Regions from separate parts of the Homo sapiens genome. Here regions 1 and 2 are each linked to region 3. Evidence: promoter capture Hi-C in human tissues and cell types (Jung and others, 2019). All regions are on one chromosome and are shown on one strand. The core of a region is centred on a gene start or on the middle of the fragment in contact, and the rest is flanking DNA. Distances in the headings are between cores, read along the strand shown.

The links. Contacts are between HindIII fragments. The study calls those that stand out against the background at their distance.
Region 1: a fragment that was not itself captured here is called in contact with the fragment with the promoter of SYF2 in region 3 in 1 of the 25 tissues and cell types used here (aorta).
Region 2: a contact is called between the fragment with the promoter of PAFAH2 here and the fragment with the promoter of SYF2 in region 3, in 1 of the 25 tissues and cell types used here (heart left ventricle).

Annotation. Positions count from the first base shown.
Region 1 is chr1:25,768,682-25,771,558 of GRCh38, forward strand. All of the region lies in intron 7 of MAN1C1 (mannosidase alpha class 1C member 1), which reads left to right. Among named protein-coding and RNA genes, the nearest start is that of SELENON, 30 kb to the right of the region's middle. The HindIII fragment of the contact is 8,181 bases long and covers 1-2,877 here.
Region 2 is chr1:25,996,332-25,999,450 of GRCh38, forward strand. PAFAH2 (platelet activating factor acetylhydrolase 2) reads right to left here and starts at 1,732. Exons shown (of 11, transcript NM_000437.4): 1 at 1,694-1,732. RefSeq lists enhancers at 1,478-1,557, 1,728-1,817, 1,828-1,877. The HindIII fragment of the contact is 6,472 bases long and covers 1-3,119 here.
Region 3 is chr1:25,231,235-25,234,457 of GRCh38, forward strand. It overlaps SYF2 (SYF2 pre-mRNA splicing factor), which reads right to left and starts at 1,268. Exons shown (of 7, transcript NM_015484.5): 1 at 1,210-1,268; 2 at 870-977. The coding sequence starts at 1,233. It overlaps LOC124903881 (a long non-coding RNA gene), which reads left to right and starts at 1,355. Exons shown (of 2, transcript XR_007065555.1): 1 at 1,355-1,445. RefSeq lists enhancers at 1,086-1,235, 1,378-2,291, 1,476-1,725. The HindIII fragment of the contact is 38,585 bases long and covers 1-3,223 here.

The DNA of each region.
Region 1 (2,877 bases), core at 329-2,828, 540 kb after region 3:
TCCACGCTCCCTTAACACACACACACTACATACACTCCCCCTACATACACTCCCCTCACACACCCACAGTCCCCTCACATACATCCACACTCCCCTCACACATACACACATTACACACACTGCGCTCACACATATCCACACTCCCCTCACACACACCACACACATTACATACACTCTCCCTACACACACTCCCCTCACACACACCACACACATATTACACACACTTTCCTCACATACACACTCCCCTTACACACTACACACACACACTTCCCCTACACACACCCCCACACTACACACACTCCCCTCACATATACATACACTACACACTCCCCTCAGGCACACACACTACACACCACCCACACTCCCACACACACTACACACCACCCACACTCCCACACACACACCTATCACCCACACTCCCTCCCACACACACACCACACACTCCCTTCACACACTACACACTCCCCTCACACATTCCACACACACACCCCACACATTACACACACTCGCCTCATGCACACACCCCACACACTACACATAGTCCCCTCATACACTACACACCACACTCCTTGACACACACACACTCTCCCTACACACACATCCACACACCCATACCCCTCAGCACACACACACGCCCCCATACACCTACATACACCACACACATTCATTCACCACACATACACACTCACCCCACACCCCATACATACATACACACACACACACACACAAGCTGTAAAGCAGTGGGACTTTCACATGTGAGATGCCCACATAAGTGCCCCTGAGAGGCAGCTGCATCTCAACACCGCGGACCCTAATGACCTGGCTCCCTCCCCTGCGTGCCCCTCCAGAGGAAGCCTGGACCTTGTCACGCACACACTCCACCACCGCGTGATTGTGGCTAAACTCCTTGGCTTGGCATTCCAGGCCCTTCCTGGCACAGCCCAAGCCTCCCATCCCGGCAGAGCCCAGGCCTCCCTTCCATTCACCTGCTCAGCACTCCATGGGCATCTCTGTGCGCCGTGTAGTTACTGGGCACAGAGCGGGAGTCGCATGCAATCCCTCCCCACAAAGAGCCCACGAGCTAGTGAGGGAGGCAGACCCGTACGCAGGCACTCATCGCACACCCGGCGGGCACCCGATGGCAAGGGGGGCCCACCACCCAAGGGGAGTGCTGCCGCCGAGGGCTTCAGATGGTGCCTGGCCTTGTTTCACTTAATCCCCGTGGCCACCCTATGGGGAGGGACCGGGAGCAGGCTTGTGAGAATGCCTGAGCCCCCGCGTGGGGAATGAGGTGGGGAGGGTGCGCCACACCGAGAGGTGACAGTGCTCGTAGCTGCCGTGCCCATGACGGGGCTGGAGAAGGGCTCTGAGCAGAGGACAACCCATGACTTCCAGCCTCCCCGGCCCCTCCTCTGCAACAGACCTGCCCCTCCTCAACATGCCAGGCCTGGCCCAGCCCTTCTCTTCTGTGGGGCACCTAGGAAGGAGAGAGGTGCCACTTCTCTCTTCCCTCCACACCAGAGCATAGTCCAGCCCACCCCAGCCCTTTCCAGCTCCTCCCCAAAGCACATGCTTCATCTTGTCTGTTCCAATTTTTGCAGATGCTGGTCCGCTCTGGAACACTTGCTGGGCCAGGACTTATTTCTGGATCAGGGCTGGAGGGGGCCGGAAGGGCGAGTGTACCATGTGGCTGGCCTCCTCTCGACCCCCATTCCTGGGTCCCATCTGTCTTTGCCCTGTCTTTTGGTCCCTTGGTCCTCACATTTGTCTTTCTTTCTCTACGTATCTCTGTCTTCACTCTCTGGTTGACTTTGTGCAGCTGTGGAAGGTGAGGCTCTGCCTTTCACCAGCTTGATGGTCTTGGATGAGCCATTTAGGCCCAGTTGCCGTTCTCCCACCTGGGAAATGGGGCCGATAGCACCTGCCTTGCAGGGTGCCCAGGAAGATTAAGTTATAAATAATACATTGAGGCTCCTGGCCCACAATAAATGGTAGCTGTTGACGTGTTCTCTCTTTCTGTCCCTCTTCCCCCCGCCCACTTTCCTTCTCCCCTCTCTGTCTGCCCCCTTCTTCTGCTGAGGAGTTGAAAACACTCTGCCCATTCCCCCCGCCCCGCCTTCAGTCCACCCCCATTTTCTTTCTTCTCTCTGTCTCTCTGCTTAAGTGAATCAGAACACAGAACTGGTTTGTTCTTTGTTAAATCTATCAAATGCCTTTACGTTTCCCTGTTGTTAATTTTCAAAGCCTGGGAGCGAAGTGTTTTCTGTCTTGCGTCTGCGGTGAAGTGTTCCTCGGGCAACCCGTCTTCCTCCTGGGACGGCCCTGGGTGGAGAGACCTCTGGTTCAGCCACAGCCTGTGAGGCCCTGCTCCTTGGCTGGCCCACTGTCCAGCAGGCAGAGGCCACCAGGGCAGAGAGGGGGTGTTCCAACTCAATTCTTCTCTTTCCCGCTCCTTTGAACTCCATTTATCTCAATTTGCTAAATTTAAACTCTGTTTTTCCAGAGTGGCTCTACTTGAGGGCTTGGCCAGCTAAATTAAGGTTTTTCTTCCTCTTTCCCGTGGCCTTTTATGAAGCTACCCAGCATTAATTATCATGTTTGTCACTGGGTAATAAAAATCTCTGAACTCCCTGCCACCAGATTATCTTTGTAAAGAAATGCAACTCACTTACAGTTAATAACCAGAGGCCCTGCCGTCCCCAGCCTGCTAAGGCGAGGTGATTTATAGCACCCGCCGGATGAGCCCGTGCACTTTTGTGCAGGATGAGCGCTCTCTAGACAGCCCTGGTTTCCTCCAAGTCGCAGGCTGTGTCTGCCTCGCAGTACCCATTCCAGGTTCGGTGGCTGCTGGCGAGATGCCCGCTTCCTACCCGTACA
Region 2 (3,119 bases), core at 482-2,981, 770 kb after region 3:
TTCGGCCTGGGTGACAGAGCGAGGTCTTGTCTCAAAAAGAAATAGTAACTATGGGCCGGGCGCGGTGGGAGGCCGAGGCGGGCGGATCAGGAGGTCAGGAGATCGAGACCATCCTGGCTAACACGGTGAAACCCTGTCTGTACTAAAAAAAATACAAAATATTAGCTGGGCCTGGTGGCGGGCGCCTGTAGTCCCAGCTACTTGGGAGGCTGAAGCAGGAGAATGGCGTGAACCCGGGAGGCGGAGCTTGCAGTGAGCCGAGATCGCGCTACTGCACTCTAGCCTGGGCGACAGAGCGAGACTCCATCTCAAAAAAAAAGAAATAGTAACTACTCACGAGATTGTTGATGAGGATTAAATAATGCATGTAAAGCACTCGATGGATAGAAGGTACTATAACCATAGGAGGCAACTATAATTATTTTAACTACATGCCTCTCAAGTTCCTTATACGTAAAATGGATACTTCGTAAGTGAAAATATTGCCTAGGGCCTGGTGCATTTTCAGTGCTTATAAAATGTTAGGAACTAATTAACAATGCTATGTCTCTCTTTCCTAGCCAAGGTCTCTCATTTTTCCTGGATTAAGCCCTTTGGCAAAACAGATTCTTTCCCAGCAGCCTTTTCAGGCCTCAGACACCCCTACCAAAGCCAGTGTCTACTGAACAGGCCCAGAGGAGCCCAGAGGGAATGGATGGGGCTTAGGTTGCAGCTGTCCTCTCCTGCTGGGACCCTGTTTCTGGTGAGCAGAGGACTGCTGCTCTGCCAGCTGTGTGACACTTTCATCACTGGCTATTTCAAGATACAGTCCAAGATAAGCACTTCTCTTGTGCTTCCTTTCAGACAAAGCTCTCTGAAGACTAAAAGCTCATTGGCCTGACCTTTGGTCTCTGGAGGAAGTGAGGAAATATCATCCAGCTCGTAGACAATGAAGACACCAAGCACTCGAGGGATGAGATTGAGCAACAAGGTGGCAGAGCTAGAGAAGAGGCCTGATAAGAGTGTTCCAGAGCATTAATAATTGTGATAAAAATAATCTCTGTCTCTTGTGAAGGTCTTACAGTTTACAAGGCATCTTCACACATACTAGCTTGTTGGCTCCTCAACACTCCTCACCTGAGACTGATGGAGCAACAGTCATCTCCGTTTTAGAGAGGAAGAAACTGAGTCCCAGAGTTGTATGATTTGCCCAAGGTCACAGAGGGTGAGAGGCAGAGCTGGCCTAGAACCGGGTCTGCTGACTTCGAGTCCAGGGTAATCGCGGATCGGAAAGAAGGAATGGGGACCCTTCTTCCACCGCCATGAAAAACAGAAAACTGAGAGTAAGAGTAAAGTACACAAAGGGTGGAGGAGCATAAAGAAGCCCGGGGTTCAGGGATGTGAGGCTGCAGGGTGAAGGTAGGGCCGAGGAATCAGGGTAGGGCTGTGGGGTCCAAGGTGGGGCTGCGGGGGCTGGGTCCTGGGACGGGAGCTCAGTGGGGATTCCAGGGGCACTGGCCGTTAAAAGTGCGAGGCGACCGTGGGAGGGTCAAGGGAGCGGGTGGCTACAGGTGTCTGAATAGGAAACGTAAAGGACGAAGATTAATGTGCAATTCCTATGACTGAGAGACGCCGAGGCCCCAAACCGGGCCAGAATACAAAAGTCTGCAGGAAGCTCAATTGAGATATAGGTGTTTTCTCCAATCAAACTTACCCAGTCAAGCTGATTCCTCAGAAGCAGCCCCAGACGTTTAACTCGACGGAAATGAGAAACGACCCATGAACCCGTGGCCCTTTGGTCGTCGTAGTTTCCAAGGCTCAAAATGGACGCTTGGAAGCACTTCTCGTTCCTCAATCTAGAACTACAATTCCCGATGTACAGTGCGCGAGATTGCGCATTACAACTCTAAAACTACACCTCCCAGAGTTCTACGCGACCGTCCAGCCCCGCGTGGTCGTGCGAAACCGCCCAAGGCCTGGGATGCGGTGTGATTCCTCCCCCTGGTGGCCTGAAGAGGTGCCGCCGCGATTTCTGCTCTCGAGCGGAGGGTTTTGCCTTAGTCCCGTGCGTAACCCTCCGCCTCACCCTCCTCAAATAGTCCTCAGGCGTGCCTAGAAATGGTCCCCGCTTCGCTTTATTCTCAAGGAGGTGGGAGGAGGTTGGAGTTTGTTTTGTGTCTTCTGCACACTTTGCTTCCTGTAAGAATAATAGACTGATCATTCAAATTAAGGGGACATTCCCTACCAGCCTGCATCTGTTGACACCTGTGATTTTCCATTGTCCTCAAAAGACTCCCTGGCAGAGAAAGGGGAGGAACCCGAGTAATCTGCTGGGCCGCATCCATCCCACATTACTGTCTAATGCTGGTTCTTAGCGACACTGATGGACAAGATACCGCTCCTAGCCTCAACAGAATCACAGTCTAGCAGAGAATTCAGACAAATGAATAATGACAGCACAGAGCCGTGATCTCATGGGGAGACACAGCAAGCGTGGGAGCCTTGAAAAGGGGCCTCTGGCCAGGCTTGGGGGAAAAGGGCGGTGTCCGCAAGGCTTTTTAGAGGGAGTGATGTTTGTTAACATTGAGACCCGATATAAGGAAAGAACGTAGCCAGGAGTACAGAGACTGTGAAGGACGTTTCAGAGTATGGCATTAAGTTCAGTGCTGGCTGCAGCTAAGTGTGAGGGATGGAAGGAGAGTATTCTCGGGGGAGTGGGCGTTAGGCAGAGCCCATCCTCAGGAGTTCTGTAAACTTCTATAGGAAATTTGGATCGTTCAGGCAGCTCAAAAACGTTCAACGGCCCTCTACTACCTATGAAGTGAAGTCCCAACTGCTTAGCCTGACATTCAAGGTCTTCTCCAACCTGCACTCCCCCACGCCCCACCCCCCACCCTTCAGCGCCCCTCCTCTGGGAGCTTTGTTCATGCCTCCAAAGTTTCCGCCGACATCTGTGTGTGCCTCGCACATGTGAGTCGACTCACACTGCCTTGGGTATCTCCTGTATTAGAGGTCTTAACTCTTGACACATTGTGAGCTCTTTGAGGTCAGGTACTGAGTCCTGCAGTCGCCCCCTCCACCCTACTCTTGCAGCCCACATCCCCCCGAAACACCAGGGTCCAGAGTCCCTGCTTTAGGCT
Region 3 (3,223 bases), core at 18-2,517:
TCTTTGTTTTGTCTCACTACAACAGTCAGAGTGATTTTGGGATTTTGTGAAACCATGGCCTAGCTGTCAGGTCACTCCATGGTGAAACAGGGGCTGCTTTTCTCTTTCTCTGCTCCAACTGCAGCAAGCTATTTGCTGGACTCTTATCCCTAATACAAATTCTCTTTCTTTGAATTTGTTCCCTTTGCTTGGATATCTCTTTCTCTAACTCCTTTAGTTGTCTGGCTTTCAAACAGTAGTTTAGGTGTCACCTACTACATGAGGCACCCCCTGGAGACCCACAAACTGCATTCCTCTCTCCTCCTCTGCACCTCCAGGGCACTTAAACATCAGATTCCCTATCAACTGGCTGAACTACCACACTGTAGACTTTCAAAAGTTTGCCATTTTTTTTATTTTCTTTTTATTCTTTTCCCCCAGAAGTCCCAAAAACAGATGATTATTTTCTTTTCACTCAAACAGATTCTGACAGAAGATTATTATTTTTTAAAGTGAACCAGGTCTCTTACTGACACTAGACAAGTTTCTTCCTGTCTCTAGCTCTACATATTTCCCTAGGTAAAATGAAGAATTTGTTGGAATCACGGAGCAGGGAGGTTGTTAGTAATGGAGACTCCCAAACCTAACCCAGATACATTAAATTGGATGTGGGTGGGAGAGGGGCTGGAGTGAACAGTTATATTTTCAAATGTTCTCAGAATGATCCCAATGTGCTGCCAGGGTTGAGTACCACCGAACAGAGCTTTCCTCTCAGATGATCCTGCTCTGTTGGTCTGTCAGACGCAGTGGTGTGGCTTCCTCGTCCCCTCTACAAAAGCGCACAGGCTTGGCCAGATGACGGATCTAAGCCGGCCTCCAAGACTACTCACCCGCATCAGGTGCAGCTCCCGGAATTTGCGCAGTCTCTGTTCGCGCTTCTGAGCGGCCAGCTCCGCCGCCGCAGCGAGGGACCCCTCCTCCGCGCTGTCCACCAGCACCTGCGACAAGGAGAACTGGCTTCAGGCAGAGCCGGCTCAGCTTCTCCCAGGACTGCCCAGGCCGAGTCCCCGCCGGTCCCCACAGGCTGGGCCTAGGGCCTCCACCGCCGACTTGACCCCACAGTGTCTGAGCCTCCCTGAAGCGAAACTAGACTTCGCCTCCACCTCTCTCCAGGCCGCTCCCCGGAACCCTCACCAACAAAACCCCCGGTGTACGGTGGGTGGAACTCACCTCGGATGCAGCTATAGCCGCCATCACAACCTTTCTCTCTTCCCACTTCCGGCAACAAGATAGAGCACTTCCGTCAACCTTCAGACAAACGGGCCGATACGTACGAATGGGCTACCATAAGCCCCGCCCCTTCCGGGAGGTCTCCGGAAGTTGGGACCCTTTTAGCTATGAAATATTTTGGATTGCGTAGGGTCTTGCGCAGCCGCGAAAAGTAGCGTGGGCCAGGACAGCGGGAGGTAAGTCGCCAAGAAAAGGGTTGGGAAGAGCTCAGAATCGGACGGCTAGGAAGAAATGACCAAAAGGAGCCTGATAGCCCCCTATTCTGCACGCTGTTCCTGGAAACCGCCTTTGCAAAGACAGTGAGAGAAATCTAACATGGCTCACTCCATCTTGCTTCTAGCCTCGCAGGCCGGCTGTCTTCGCTCATTCCTGGGCATAAACCAAGCTAACCATGGGAGAATTTATAGTTTAACTTTTAAGCAAGGATGATCATAGTCCCTTCCTTAAACAGGGCCCCTCCTTGTTTGGGGGCTGAAACTGCCTTTATAAAACTAATGAAAGACCGGGAGGTTAGGATTATGAGGGGAGAATTCTGCTAAAATGTAGTAAACGATAACCAGCCATTGTTTCGGAGGACATCGGATGTGTAACTTCCCCAATTATTCCTGTAGATAACGTTATCGTAGCACCTAAGATTGGTCTTTTGAGGCATTTTTCAGACTTTCGCATTCTGGCAACTAACTGACCCCACCCAGACTCGTGACCCATGACCCAACCGCTTCTTCTGTCCCACTCCTCCCCCAAGAGGCGGACTCAGCTGTTGAGGAGTGTAGTCCACACCCCTGTGATTGCATCTCCAACCAATCAGCAGCATCCATTCCCTAGTGCCCTGCCCACACCAAACTATGAAATACCCTAACCTCTGAGCTGACCCTTCAGGAAAACTTACTTGAGTGGTAACCCTTCTTCCCTGAGGCCAGCCTCAGGTTAATACAACTGTATACTGCAGTAGCACTTTTCAGTGAATTGGTTTTGTCTGCAGTAAGCAGGAAAAACCTGCAGTGCCATTCATTCCCATGAGTGGAAAGTTCTTTCCATTTAGAGCTTAAGGTGTTGTCACTTTCTCCAAGAAGCAGGTCTTGCCCTTGGCCTGGTGTGGTGGTTCATGGCTGCAATCCCAGCACATTGCGGGGCGGAGGCGGGAGGATTGCTTGAGCCCAGGAGTTCAAGACCAGCCTGGACAACAAAGTAAGAATCAGTCTCTAAATTAAAAAATAAAAGTAATTTTTTTTTGTTTTTTTGTTTTGAGACAGAGTCTTGCACTATCACCCAGGCTGGAGTGCAGTGGCACCGATCTCGGCTTACTGCAACGTCCGGCTCCCGGGTTCAGACGATTCTCCTGCCTCAGCTTCCCGAGTAGCTGGGATTACGGGTGCCTGCCACCATGCCCAGCTAATTTTTGTATTTTTAGTAGAGATAGGGTTTCACCATGTTGGCCAGGCTGGTCTCGAACTCCTGACCTCATGATCTGCCCACCTCAGCCTCCCAAAGTGCCGGGATTACAGGCATGAGCCACTGTGCCTGGCCATAAAAATAAATTTTTAAAAATAGAAGCAGGTCTTCCCTGACTACCCTGTCTCACTTTTAGTACTGTCATTTGACACTATTTTAATTCTCTCCAATTGCATAAGTTTTATTTTTGTCTGTTGATTTTCTATTTTTCTCATCAGCGTTATTACTGGAGAACAGCAGAGTCCACCCATCTTGTTTACTCTTACATGCTCAGCAGAGAGGCAATGCCAGAATTACTAACAGTGCTAAAGTTACTAAGATAAGTAAGGTGCTGGATATAAGAGGAATATATGAAAATTATTTTTTTCTGCACTAACAACTACTAGTTAGATACAGAAATGAAAAAGTAGGCCAGGTGCAGTGGCTCATGCCTGTAATCTCAGTACTTTGGGAGGCCGAGGCGGGCAGATCACGAGGTCAGGAGATCAAGACCATCCTGGCT